Regions from separate parts of the Homo sapiens genome. Here all the other regions are linked to region 1. Evidence: promoter capture Hi-C in 16 types of primary human blood cells and fetal thymus (Javierre and others, 2016). All regions are on one chromosome and are shown on one strand. The core of a region is centred on a gene start or on the middle of the fragment in contact, and the rest is flanking DNA. Distances in the headings are between cores, read along the strand shown.

Region 1 (3,459 bases), core at 628-3,127:
AACTTGCCTCAGTCTCTCACTCTGCCTTATGCCTCTTGGATGAATTCTTTCCTTTGAAGAGGCAAGAATCAAGTTATTGTAGATCCGTATGGATTCACCACTGCTAACATTATGCTGAATGGTATGTGAGAGTAGAAAAAAAAACACTGTTTTTTCCCTGTCTCTAATAATGAGCTTAACATCAGAATAGAAATAATAGAAGAAAAAAATCAAAGAACTGGAAGCCAGAATTTACTCAACCTGAACAAAAGAAAGAAACTAGAATGGGAAAAAAAAGAAAAAAAAGAACAGAGCCTCAGGGACCTGTGAAACTATCATAAAAGATCTAACATGGGGGCTAAAAATTTACTCCAAGAAATAATAGCTGAAAAGTTCTCAAATTTGTCAAGAGACATAACTATAGAATTCAGCAATACAGAAAAAGAAATATACAACAGGACCAAGCAAGGTTTATTCCAGGGAGGCAAGGCTGGTTCAATATTAGAAGATCAGTGTAATCTATCTTATTAACAGGCTAAAGAAGAAAAACACCACATGCTTATAGTAACTGATGCAGAAAAAACACTTGCCAAAATTCAACACCTATTCATGATAAAAACACTCAGAAAAAAATAGAAATAGAGGAGAATTTCCTCAACTTGATAAAGGGCATCTACACAAAACCTACTACTAATATTGTACCTAACCATGAAAGACTGAATGTTTTCCCTCTAAGATCAAAAGCAAGGCAAGGATGTCTGCTCTCATCACTCTTATTCAACGTAGAGCTAGACACTCTAGCCTGCGCAATAAGGCAAGAAAAGGAAATAAAACGCATATAGATCTGAAAGAAAGAAGTAAGATCTGTTTACTTATTTACAGGTAATGTGATTACACAGAAAATCCCAAGGAATCAACAACAAAAGACTCCTAGAACTCAAAAGTGACCAACAAATTCCTCTTTAAGTAAAGTTGGGTCTCTCACATGTAATTGAAAGAGTCCTTTATTTATTCACATATCCATCAACTATTTATTGAATGCCTAAAATTTGCCAGTAGCTATTCCAGGCAATAGATACACCATCAAACAAAAAGAGTTCTTACCCTCAAGGGTGATAGTAAGAGATGTAAAAAGTTAAAAAATGGTAAAAGAGAAAAAATGAAGAGTGCTACTTTAGAAAATGAGGTAAGGGAAGAGTTATTTAATAAGACACCTCAGAAAATGAGGAATTTGGCCAGGGGGATATCTGAGGAAAGAGTTCCAGTCAGTGGAAACTGTGAATTCAGAAAGCCTGAGGCTGAAACAGGCAAGTGTGTTTGAGAAAAAGCAAGGAGGCCGGTGGCTGTGCAGAGTGAGGCAGAGGAAGGAGAATGGGCTGTGGATCAGAGGACCCTGTGCCAGATCATACAACTCCTTGCAGTTCATGTAAGGACTCGGATTTTACCTGGAGTGGAAAAAGAAGCACTGAAAGATTTGAGCAGGGGAGTAACCTGATAGCGTTTATGTTTAGTCCTGCCACTTCGACAGATAAACGCACCAATGGGCTTGATGAGATTTAGGCCAACCCATAACCGCCCCTCAACTTCTTTCCTTTCAATTTCAAAACTCCTCTATGGCTTCCTCCATCTGTTCTTCCTTCTGAGAAGTGCTCTCTCTGCCCCTTTACAGAACTAACCACTTCGGCAACTCCTTGGACACTTTCCTTCTTGTTAATAATTTGCTTTCTCCGCCCCTCAAAAGCTTGCTGTTTCTGTAAATCATTACCTGTAAGAGGAACCGCTGGGAGTCCTGTAAACTTTAGCCCAGAGCTTGGCTCCTCCTCCAGAATGTCTCCACCAATCAAGGAAAGTGTTTTGGGCCAGTCTTGCTCCTCCGGATTGTCAGACTGCTCCTCCCTCTTCTTTAGACTGCCACGAGGAAAAAGCAGATGTGAGAACTCAAGGTTCAGGGCTGCTCTTCTAAGAAACAAGTCTGCCATAATCTCCATCTGTGTTGGAATCTGTTAACTAGTGAGTACCTCATCTCCCCTCCTGTGTAAGATTTCCTGAACTGGCACATCTGTTTTTTGAGCAAAGATAACAAACAGATGAACAAAACCAACAATCAAAAATGCTGTCATTAAAGTCTTGGGCAGCCAAAGTTTCTCTCAGAATTTCTCAGTTGTGTGATACTATCTATTAAGTGATGAGGAGTATGCACACACAAAAGGCTATAAATGTAGCAGCTGAGTTTTCATGTTGAGCCTTTTGGTGCTATTTGATTTTTTGAAAAACTATGTACATGTATTAAGTTGATAAATTTTTTTTTTAATTTTAATTGAACCAGATGCGGTGGCTCAAGCCTGTAATCCCACCACTTTAGGAGGCTATGGTGGGCAGATGCAGATCACTTGAGGCCAGGAGTTCGAGACCAGCTTGGCCAACATGGTGAAACCCTATCTCTACTGAAAATAAAAAATTAGCCAGGTGTGGTGGCAGGTGCCTGTAACCCCAGCTACTTGGGAGCCTGAGGCAGTAGAGTCACTTGAACCTGGGAGGTGGAGTTTGCAGTAAGCTGAGATTGCATCACTGCACTCCAGCCTGGGTGACAGAACAAGACTCCATCTCAAAAAAAAGACCAGGTAGTGGCTGAGATTTTCATTGTACTGTCTGCTTAGCTCCCCACCTTGCTCAGTGACAGATGGGAATCCATCTTCTGCATCATCCAGAAAGTATGTAAATTACTTCCAGGAAACTTTGGGAAACACAGATGCAAACCTAAGAGCAGCCAGTTTTCTCCTTTAGGTGGTCAAGGGCAGCTGCAAAAGTTCTGTATAGGAGGGGCTTCAGGCAGGGTCTGGTTGGGTTTGGAGACAACAGCAGTGAATTTACCTTGCGTTGAGGCTGTATATGTTAAACTACTGTTATTACTTGGATACTTAGAGGGAGGGATGTTTAGGGAGCTGTGGGGAGGCTAAAGCCCCCTTGGCTGTAGGGACAAAGAGCTTGCATTTCAGATGAGACCTTAAATACTTTCAGAAGCCTATCTGACCAGGGGTGGTACTGTCTTTCTTAGAAGAGTTTTCCTTACCAATGTTTCTGTGGCTCAGTATAAAAATCTGGAGTCACCCTGGGAAAGTTATCTCAGCAATTTTACCTACAAATAATTTTATAAACCTGGGAAATAGAAGTTGTAAAATGCTAAGATCGATGAAAAGGGAGGAAAAGAACTTTGTTGAGGAGAAGGTAATCTTATGGTTTTGATGAAGAGGATGTCGATATTTGCTTTTTGGTAGAACAGAATGGTTAGGTTCATTTTAAGCTCCAAATGACTGATCAATTTTCTTTTCAACATACGTTTGAAGGATTCTGAATGTGGTGTAGAGTATTGTATGGGAGCTAGGGAACAAATCATACTAAACTCTGATTCTATTCAGAATCAGCAAGCTAAGTATGATATATTTATCTCCAATCATATTAATATTTACATAATTATTTAAT
Region 2 (3,734 bases), core at 872-3,371, 1.4 Mb after region 1:
AATAATGAGTATATATTAAGTACCTACTACATACAGAATATAATTATTTTTATGAGACAGGGTCTCACTATATTGTCCAGGCTGGTTTCAAACTCCTGAGCTCAAGAGATCCTCTTGGCCAGGTGTGGTGGCTCGCACCTATAATCCCAGTGCTTTGGGAGGCTGAGACAGGAGGATCACTTGAGGCCAGGAGTTTGAGACCAGCCTGGGCAACATAGCAAGACCTCATCTCTACAAAAAATTTTAAAATTAGCCAGGCAAGGTGGTGCATGCCTTTAGTCCCAGCTCAGGTGGGGGATTACTTGAGCCCAGGAGTTCAAGGCTGCAGATTGCACCACTGTACTCCAGCCTAGGCAACAGATGGAGATCCTGCCCCTAAAAACCAAAAAAAAAAAAAAAGATTCTCCCCCCTCAGCCTTCTAAATAGCTGAGATTACAGGCATGCACCACCATGCCTGGCTCAGAATACTATTCTCATAATAATGATGATGCAGGTTTATATTTGCTTAGTTAAAAGAGAGGATGTTTTCATCACAGATTGTAAATAGCAAAGTAATCGGTGGTATTTGAGGTTATTTGCAAAAATCCTTCCAGTCCAGTCGGGCACGGTGGCTCACACTTGTTCCCAGCACTTTGGGAGGCTGAGGCGGGTGGATAACCTGAGGTCAGGAGTTTGAGACCAGCCTGGCCAACGCAGTGAAATCCTGTCTCTACTAAAAATACAAAAATTAGCTGGGTGTGGTGGCACATACCTGTAGTCCCAGCTACTCGGGATGCTGAGGCAGAAGAGTCGCTTGAACCTGGAAGGTGGAGGTTGCAGTGTGCTGAGACCACACCATTGTACTCCAGCCTGGGTGACAGCACAAGACTCCATCTAAAAAAAAAAAAAAAATTACTTCCAGTCCACTCTCGTTTTATTGTCTCTGATGCCCTGCTAAGTTAAAAAGGTCAAAAAAAAATCGTGATCTCCATTTTATGATGAAAAATTGAGCACTAGGAAAATTATTTGTCCAAGGCCACACCATACTGGAATTGGCTTCAGACTCCATGTTCAGTGCTCTTTAACAAGGGGAGTCAGAGGGGGAGAGTGGAGAATGGGCCACAGAAAGAAGTAGTCACCTATGGCTTCTCCTTTGAGCCATCCGGATCAGTGGAGGAGAGAATAAGATGATACTGACAATCTCTTGAGTTGTGACAGTATGCCAGGCACTGTGCTTTATCTCATTTAACTGAGTTGTAGACAACATTGTCCTCTCCATTTAGAGAGGAGGAAATGAGACACACAGTGAAATAACCTGCCCGTGATCACTCACTTAAATGGTAGAGCTGGGATTTGAACCCAGACCTCAGTGATTTCAAGCTTAACCATTAGCTTGTGAAAATGCATCAGGAATCACATCCACATAAAATAGCTGCCAGGGTGCAGCTGAATTGTGGTCAGGCAGGGACTTGGCTCCTCTCCCTCTTGTTTAACTTGGGGATTTCCTTGTTCAGCTCAGGGGCAATGTCCTTAACTGTGGAAGTTCCTTGGCTGTGGCTCGGGTACCCTCTGCTGGTCAATCTGTGACACATCAACCAGCCCTCCAGTTTGACTTTATAGCCTTTTATGCATTTAACATAAATGTTACCAGGCACTGTGCTGAGCAACGGAGGCAAGAAGACATAGTCCTTGCCCTTAGGGAGCTCCTAGTTCAAAGGGGAAGACAGCCCACTAACCAGGCAACTCAACACTGTAATTAGAGCCATTCTTGGGAAAATCGCGAGAAACTCCAGTGCACACAGAAGGGGCGCCTCAGCCAACTCTGAGGAAGTCAGAGAAAGCTTCCCAGAGGTGACATCTAGAGACATCTAGGTGTATTAGGGACCCTGCTTATCTAGCGTAACTCAACTCCTGTGCTCCCCAAAGCCCTGCACTTACTGACTAGGAAAAAAAGGGACAAATACTGGCCTCTCTCCTCACCCCCCATTAAGCATCCAAGACCACAGGTTTGACCCCAGGGGCTGTTTCAATGCCATGGGAGAATCCAGCAGCTGGTGGATTCTTCCCCAGGGTCCGGCTGAGGAAAAAGAGAGGAAGAAATGAGTCAGGTGGGAGAACATCTCCAGGTGCCAGCACAGCAGAGAAGAAATTAGGCTAGAACCTGGCTCCCCTGTGCGACCCCAGGCAAGTCACTCAACCTCTCTGACCTTTTTCCAAGTATGCACAGAACAGATAGTGCTAGTACCACCTGAGAGGATTAAATGAGGTAGGGCATAGAAAGGATTTAGTCCAGGCCAAATGCAGGGTGTGTGTTCCTTAACTGCTGATAGCTATCATTACTACCCTTCAAACCAGTGGGCCCCAAGCCATCTGGCAGCAGGGGAAACACAGCTTAGACCCTGGAGAGCAATCAGTTCTGCATAATCGAATTCCTCTCTTAGGGAAGCTTAGTTAATAAGCGAGGGCATGAAGGCTGCGACTGGGGCCCTCCTGGTCACAGTTGGTCTGGGGTTGGGGGCAGGAAGCCAAGGTCGTTTCCTGCAGATGTTTCTGGCAGGCGTTCACCTTCTCCTAGCGGATGCCTAAGAATGTATCAAGGGCCTCCTGAGTCCCAGCACCGTGCTAGGCCGGGAAGATGAGTGTAGGGGTGAGACCTTTGCTTCTTAGGGACCAAGGAGTTAAATAGGGTGCGAATTCAGCGGGGCTGGAGGGGGCGACGCAAAGGCGGCACCCTCCAATAAAAATGAACATGTAAGGAAGAAAGGAAGACCTCTCTAATGAGGGCATCGCAGGAGCAAGACGCTGCACTCGGGTCCTTTTAAATCACTATGTAATGGAGGGGAAATCCCTGCCCTCTCTTTTCCCTTTCCGTAAACAACGAAGTAGAGGATGTCCTCCTCCCACGAGGCCCGCCCTCGGATGCCCCGCCTGTCCCCGCAGGTGCGCAGCGTGGCCGTGACGCACACCTTCCAGATAGCCAAGGCCCGCGCCCAGCTCGGCTACGCGCCGGATAAGTTTAGGTTCGCCGACGCCGTGGAGCTATACGTGCAGTCCACGACCCGGCGGCCCCGCGGCTCCACGGCGCGGACCCTCCTGCGCCTGCTGCTCAGGCTGCTGCTGTTCCTCGGCTTGCTCGCCCTGGCCCTGCACTTCCTAGGCCTGCAGCCTCTGCACGCCGCCGTGGAGCGCCTGTGACCGTCCGCCGTCCGCCGCCCGCTAGGGTCGGCCCCGCTGCACCCTCGCCCACGCCCGGCTCCCTGGGCTTGTACCAGCCCCTGCCCCGCCTTCTGGGTTTGAGCGCGCCTCCGCTCCGCCCCTTGAATCCTGGTCACGCCCCCGAGCCGCTCTCCAGACCTAGCCCGGACCGCCGACTTCTGGCCACGCCCCTATCTACTCCCAGACCTTGCCTTGCGCCCTTCCTGTGTTTTGGCCCCGCCCCTGTCCTGTCCCGCCCCGCCCTCCGAAGTGGGCACGCTCCTGCTCCGCCCCCTGAATCCTGGCCACGTCCCTGGTCGGCCCAGACGCGTAGCCCCGAGTCTCTTTCCATGTTTTGACCACGCCCTTGACCCGCCCTTCAAATTGGGCACGCCTTCTTCCCCGCTCACTGATTTCCTGGCCTAGCCCCTGAGCAGACCTCCAGACCTAGCCCCGCCCCCGTTTTATAACCCCGCCCCTGCTTCACGGCTTGGGCACGCCTCTTCCCCGCCCCCTGACTTCAGAGCCTAGTCCTGAGCCGCTCTCCAGGCCTAACCCC
Region 3 (3,533 bases), core at 498-2,997, 1.6 Mb after region 1:
TATTTTAGCTTAATATGCTTCAAAGACTCCTGTTATTTTTAATTTTATGAGAGTTTTATCACCATTATCCTCCTTATTCACGAGAAATTTATCAGATGATTTATTCTGGTCCTGCTAAGACTGCTTCCTAAATGGCCAAGGATAAAGGGGAATAATCCCAACCTTAATGCCGCAGTGTAAGTCACCTTGATTCCCTCCCTGCTCAGCTCTACCTGAAGACACTAAAACACAGTATATATTCCAAAGGAAAAAGTCACAGTATTTCCCTGGACAGAACCAGAAAGAGGGGAGAAATGGTTTGAAGCTTACTGATGATCAAACTGTAAAAGACTCAGAACTTGACTTTAAAAACACTCTTCTTGGCCAGGCATGGTGGCTCACACCTGTAATCCCAACACTTTGGGAGGCCAAAACAGGCAGATTGCTTAAGGCAGGCCAGGAGTTCAAGACCAGCCTGGCCAACATGACAAAAACCCACCTCTAATAAAAATACAAAAATTAGTCCGGCGTGGTGGCACGCGCCTGTAATCCCACGTACTCAGGAGGCTGAGGCATGAGAATCTTTTGAACGTGGGAGGTGAACGTTGCAGTGAACCGAGATCGTGCCACTGCACTACAGCCTGGGTGACAGAGACTGTCTCAAACACAACACAACACACTCTTCTTGAGGCTTTTTCTACAACTCTAGAAGGATTTGCAAGGCTAACAAACAATGGGCTAAATGACACTCAACGGGCCCTTAAAGTGTTGAAAAAAGCATATATGGCTTTTTTTTTTTCAAATCCATTTACATAACTCAGCAGCAAAGAGTTGAACAAACACTTAACCTAACTTCAACTTTCTCATCTGAAACTCTTGAAGTCAAAAGTGTTTTGGAAAATTCTTTAAATTTTAGAAAGACAACATGGCGCTCATACCTGACACACAGCTGACACCTTATAATACCTGTGAGGTCTGGGCAGCACCCTGTAATCAAGCATTAATATTTCTGCATCAAAAAGTATGAACTAAGACTATAAACAGCCTCACATCAGTTCAGGTAAAGATCTACTACCAAATGAATCTGTTGCAAATTTAAGGGGAAAAAAAAAATCTTGCTTTATAGAGCTTTTTGAGTTCGGAATTAGTAAGTGGATCTGTTAGTACCTACCATGTAGAACTGGCAGAATTAAATGAGAAAGGTGAGCACATGGCACGGTCTATAAAAGCCTGTGTGTAGTCTTCACTGCCTCAACTCCCACCAGCTTCTTCTGGTCCTTTGGAAATCAACCACTAATTCTCATGCGTGAAGCTTTCTCAGAACTAAAGGAGTAGGCCCTTAATCCTGCCCTCGGGCTAGTAATTCCATAGTAGGTTCTTGTCATTGATGGGAACATGTTCAATCTCTTAGGAATTGATGAGATTCCACAGGAGCGGAAAAAAGGCTTAGAATCACAAGAATATATATATAATAGCTGCAGAAATGTTTCAAGCTTCTTTATATCAAGTATAAATTATCAAGTATTCTTTAGGACTCAGAACTACCTTTAAAAAGGCTAATGCATAAGCCAGACATTAATTTATTAATATACAACAGGAACTGTTCCTGCCCAGTGACAAGAATATTCACATCCTCTATTAGGACACAGCTGCCCCACAAAGGGCATGTGAAAGGCCGATTCATGAATGAGAGTCTCTGGTAGACATGGGATCAGAGGAGTCTGATGGGAGGCAGTGGTATAGTAGCTAAGAGCACAGGCTTTGGAGTCAGAACCTGGTTTGAGGTCTTGCTTTGCTGTTTAGAACTGGGTAACCTACAGCAAGCACATTTTTCTAATGTGAGTTCTCCTCATCAACTACTTCATAAGGCTGTAAAGATAAATATGTGTGTGGGAGAGACTGGACTATGTCACCCCAAAGCATGCGTCTTTGGCATAAAAAGGTTCCTGCCTCCTCCCTCTCTACCAGGGAGAACAAAGGTTAACCACTAACAACTTTAGACCTTTATGGGCCAGAAGACAGCACCAGAGGAATCCACACTAACAAGCTTTGCTAACGGGCCTTTATCACCACTTACTTGCCTTCCCACAAGTTCTGCCCCTAGACAAAGTTCTTCCCCTTTGTCTTGTCACTTCTCTAAAAAATTACCATTCTTTGTTGAAGATACTACATAAGCTGGAATTCAAAGCCACCTCTGAGAATGACTCATCCCCTGGGTATCTCCCACACATATAAATGAAATAGATATGTTAGTAAGCTTGTTTTTCTCTTGTTAATCTGTCTTTTGTTGCAGGGGTCCTTTCCAACTAAGCACTCATGAAGGTTGAGGAAAAAAATATTTTTCCTCCCTGACATATACAAATATATAATTTACAAAAACGTTAATATATGTAGAGAGCTCAGCATGAGATCTGGCAGATGGTAAATTGCTCAATAAGGAGAAGCTACTGTCATCTTTATTTAAAGCTACAGTTTTCAAACTTTACATGTGCTAAGATTCACCTGGAAGAAGATTTATTAAAGTGTAAGAACCTGGGTCCCTTCCCCTCAAACGGCTGAGACTGGAGTAGAGCCAGGATTCTGCATTTTTAGCAACAAACCCAGGTGATATTAGTACAGGCAGTCCAGAGATCACACTTAGAGAAATGTTGATCTTGGACATGGAAAATCCTGGACGTCCCCTGCCCTGACCAATGTCCTTTTCTCTTGGGTCTAGGAGACACAGGCATTCACTGGATCAATGATGACTCTTCAGCTTAATGCTCACCGTCTCCCTGCATAGGGCTCAGCTTAGATGCAGTTATCCACTAAGATTAGGTTATATTTTAACTGTACCACAGCAGCATTCATCATCATAACGCTTCACTTTGGTATGTTCTTAACAATCATTAATTCCCTGAAATTACAAACTAGTTACCTTAACCTTGCTTGAGTGATCCTTCCTAACTTCTCAGTCCAAACAAATACTGAATTTCTACAGATGGCTAATCTTATCCACTGCATTTTAAAACTTTCTATTGTGGACCAGGTGTGGTGGCTCATGCCTGTAATCCCAGCACTTTGGGAGGCCAAGGCGGGTGGATCACTTGAGGACAGGAGTTCGAGACCAGCCTGGCCAACATGGTGAAACTCCATCTCTACTTAAAAAAAAAAAAAAAAAATTAGTTAGGCATGGTGGCACACGCCTGTAGTCCCAGCTACTTGGGAGGCTGAGGCATGAGAATCACTTGAACCCAGGAGGCAAAGGTTGCAGTGAGATAAGATCACACCATTGCACTCCAGCCTGGGCGACAGAGTGAGACTATGTCTAAAAATAAATAAATAAATAAAACTTTCTATTGTGGATAATCTCAAACATATATACATGCAGAGAAATGGTTTAATGAACTCCCACGTACCCATCAACCAGTTTCAACAATTATCAACATACAGCCAATCTTATTTCATCTCTACTCTCCTACTTTCCTCGTCCTCCAATCATTTTAAAGCTAATCCAAGGCATCTCAAGTATACATCTTCATACATTTCTAGGACGTTTTATTTTAACCACAATT

Evidence for each region. The method cuts DNA at HindIII sites, captures the fragments that hold promoters and counts their contacts. A CHiCAGO score of 5 or more calls a contact.
Region 2: a fragment that was not itself captured here is called in contact with the fragment with the promoter of ACSM3 in region 1 in 1 of 17 cell types (total B cells); the score reaches 5.7 in total B cells.
Region 3: a fragment that was not itself captured here is called in contact with the fragment with the promoter of ACSM3 in region 1 in 1 of 17 cell types (total B cells); the score reaches 6.1 in total B cells.

The regions. Positions count from the first base shown.
Region 1 is chr16:20,762,137-20,765,595 of GRCh38, forward strand. It overlaps ACSM3 (acyl-CoA synthetase medium chain family member 3), which reads left to right and starts at 1,878. Exons shown (of 14, transcript NM_005622.4): 1 at 1,878-1,989. RefSeq lists an enhancer at 2,015-2,144. The HindIII fragment of the contact is 1,761 bases long and covers 1,719-3,459 here.
Region 2 is chr16:22,187,219-22,190,952 of GRCh38, forward strand. SDR42E2 (short chain dehydrogenase/reductase family 42E, member 2) reads left to right here. Exons shown (of 13, transcript NM_001394319.2): 13 at 2,921-3,734. The coding sequence ends at 3,175. It overlaps LOC124903666 (a long non-coding RNA gene), which reads right to left and starts at 794. Exons shown (of 2, transcript XR_007065028.1): 1 at 753-794. RefSeq lists silencers at 2,919-3,008, 3,099-3,148, 3,289-3,388 and an enhancer at 3,094-3,593. The HindIII fragment of the contact is 605 bases long and covers 1,820-2,424 here.
Region 3 is chr16:22,351,605-22,355,137 of GRCh38, forward strand. All of the region lies in intron 2 of CDR2 (cerebellar degeneration related protein 2), which reads right to left. Among named protein-coding and RNA genes, the nearest start is that of CDR2, 21 kb to the right of the region's middle. The HindIII fragment of the contact is 554 bases long and covers 1,471-2,024 here.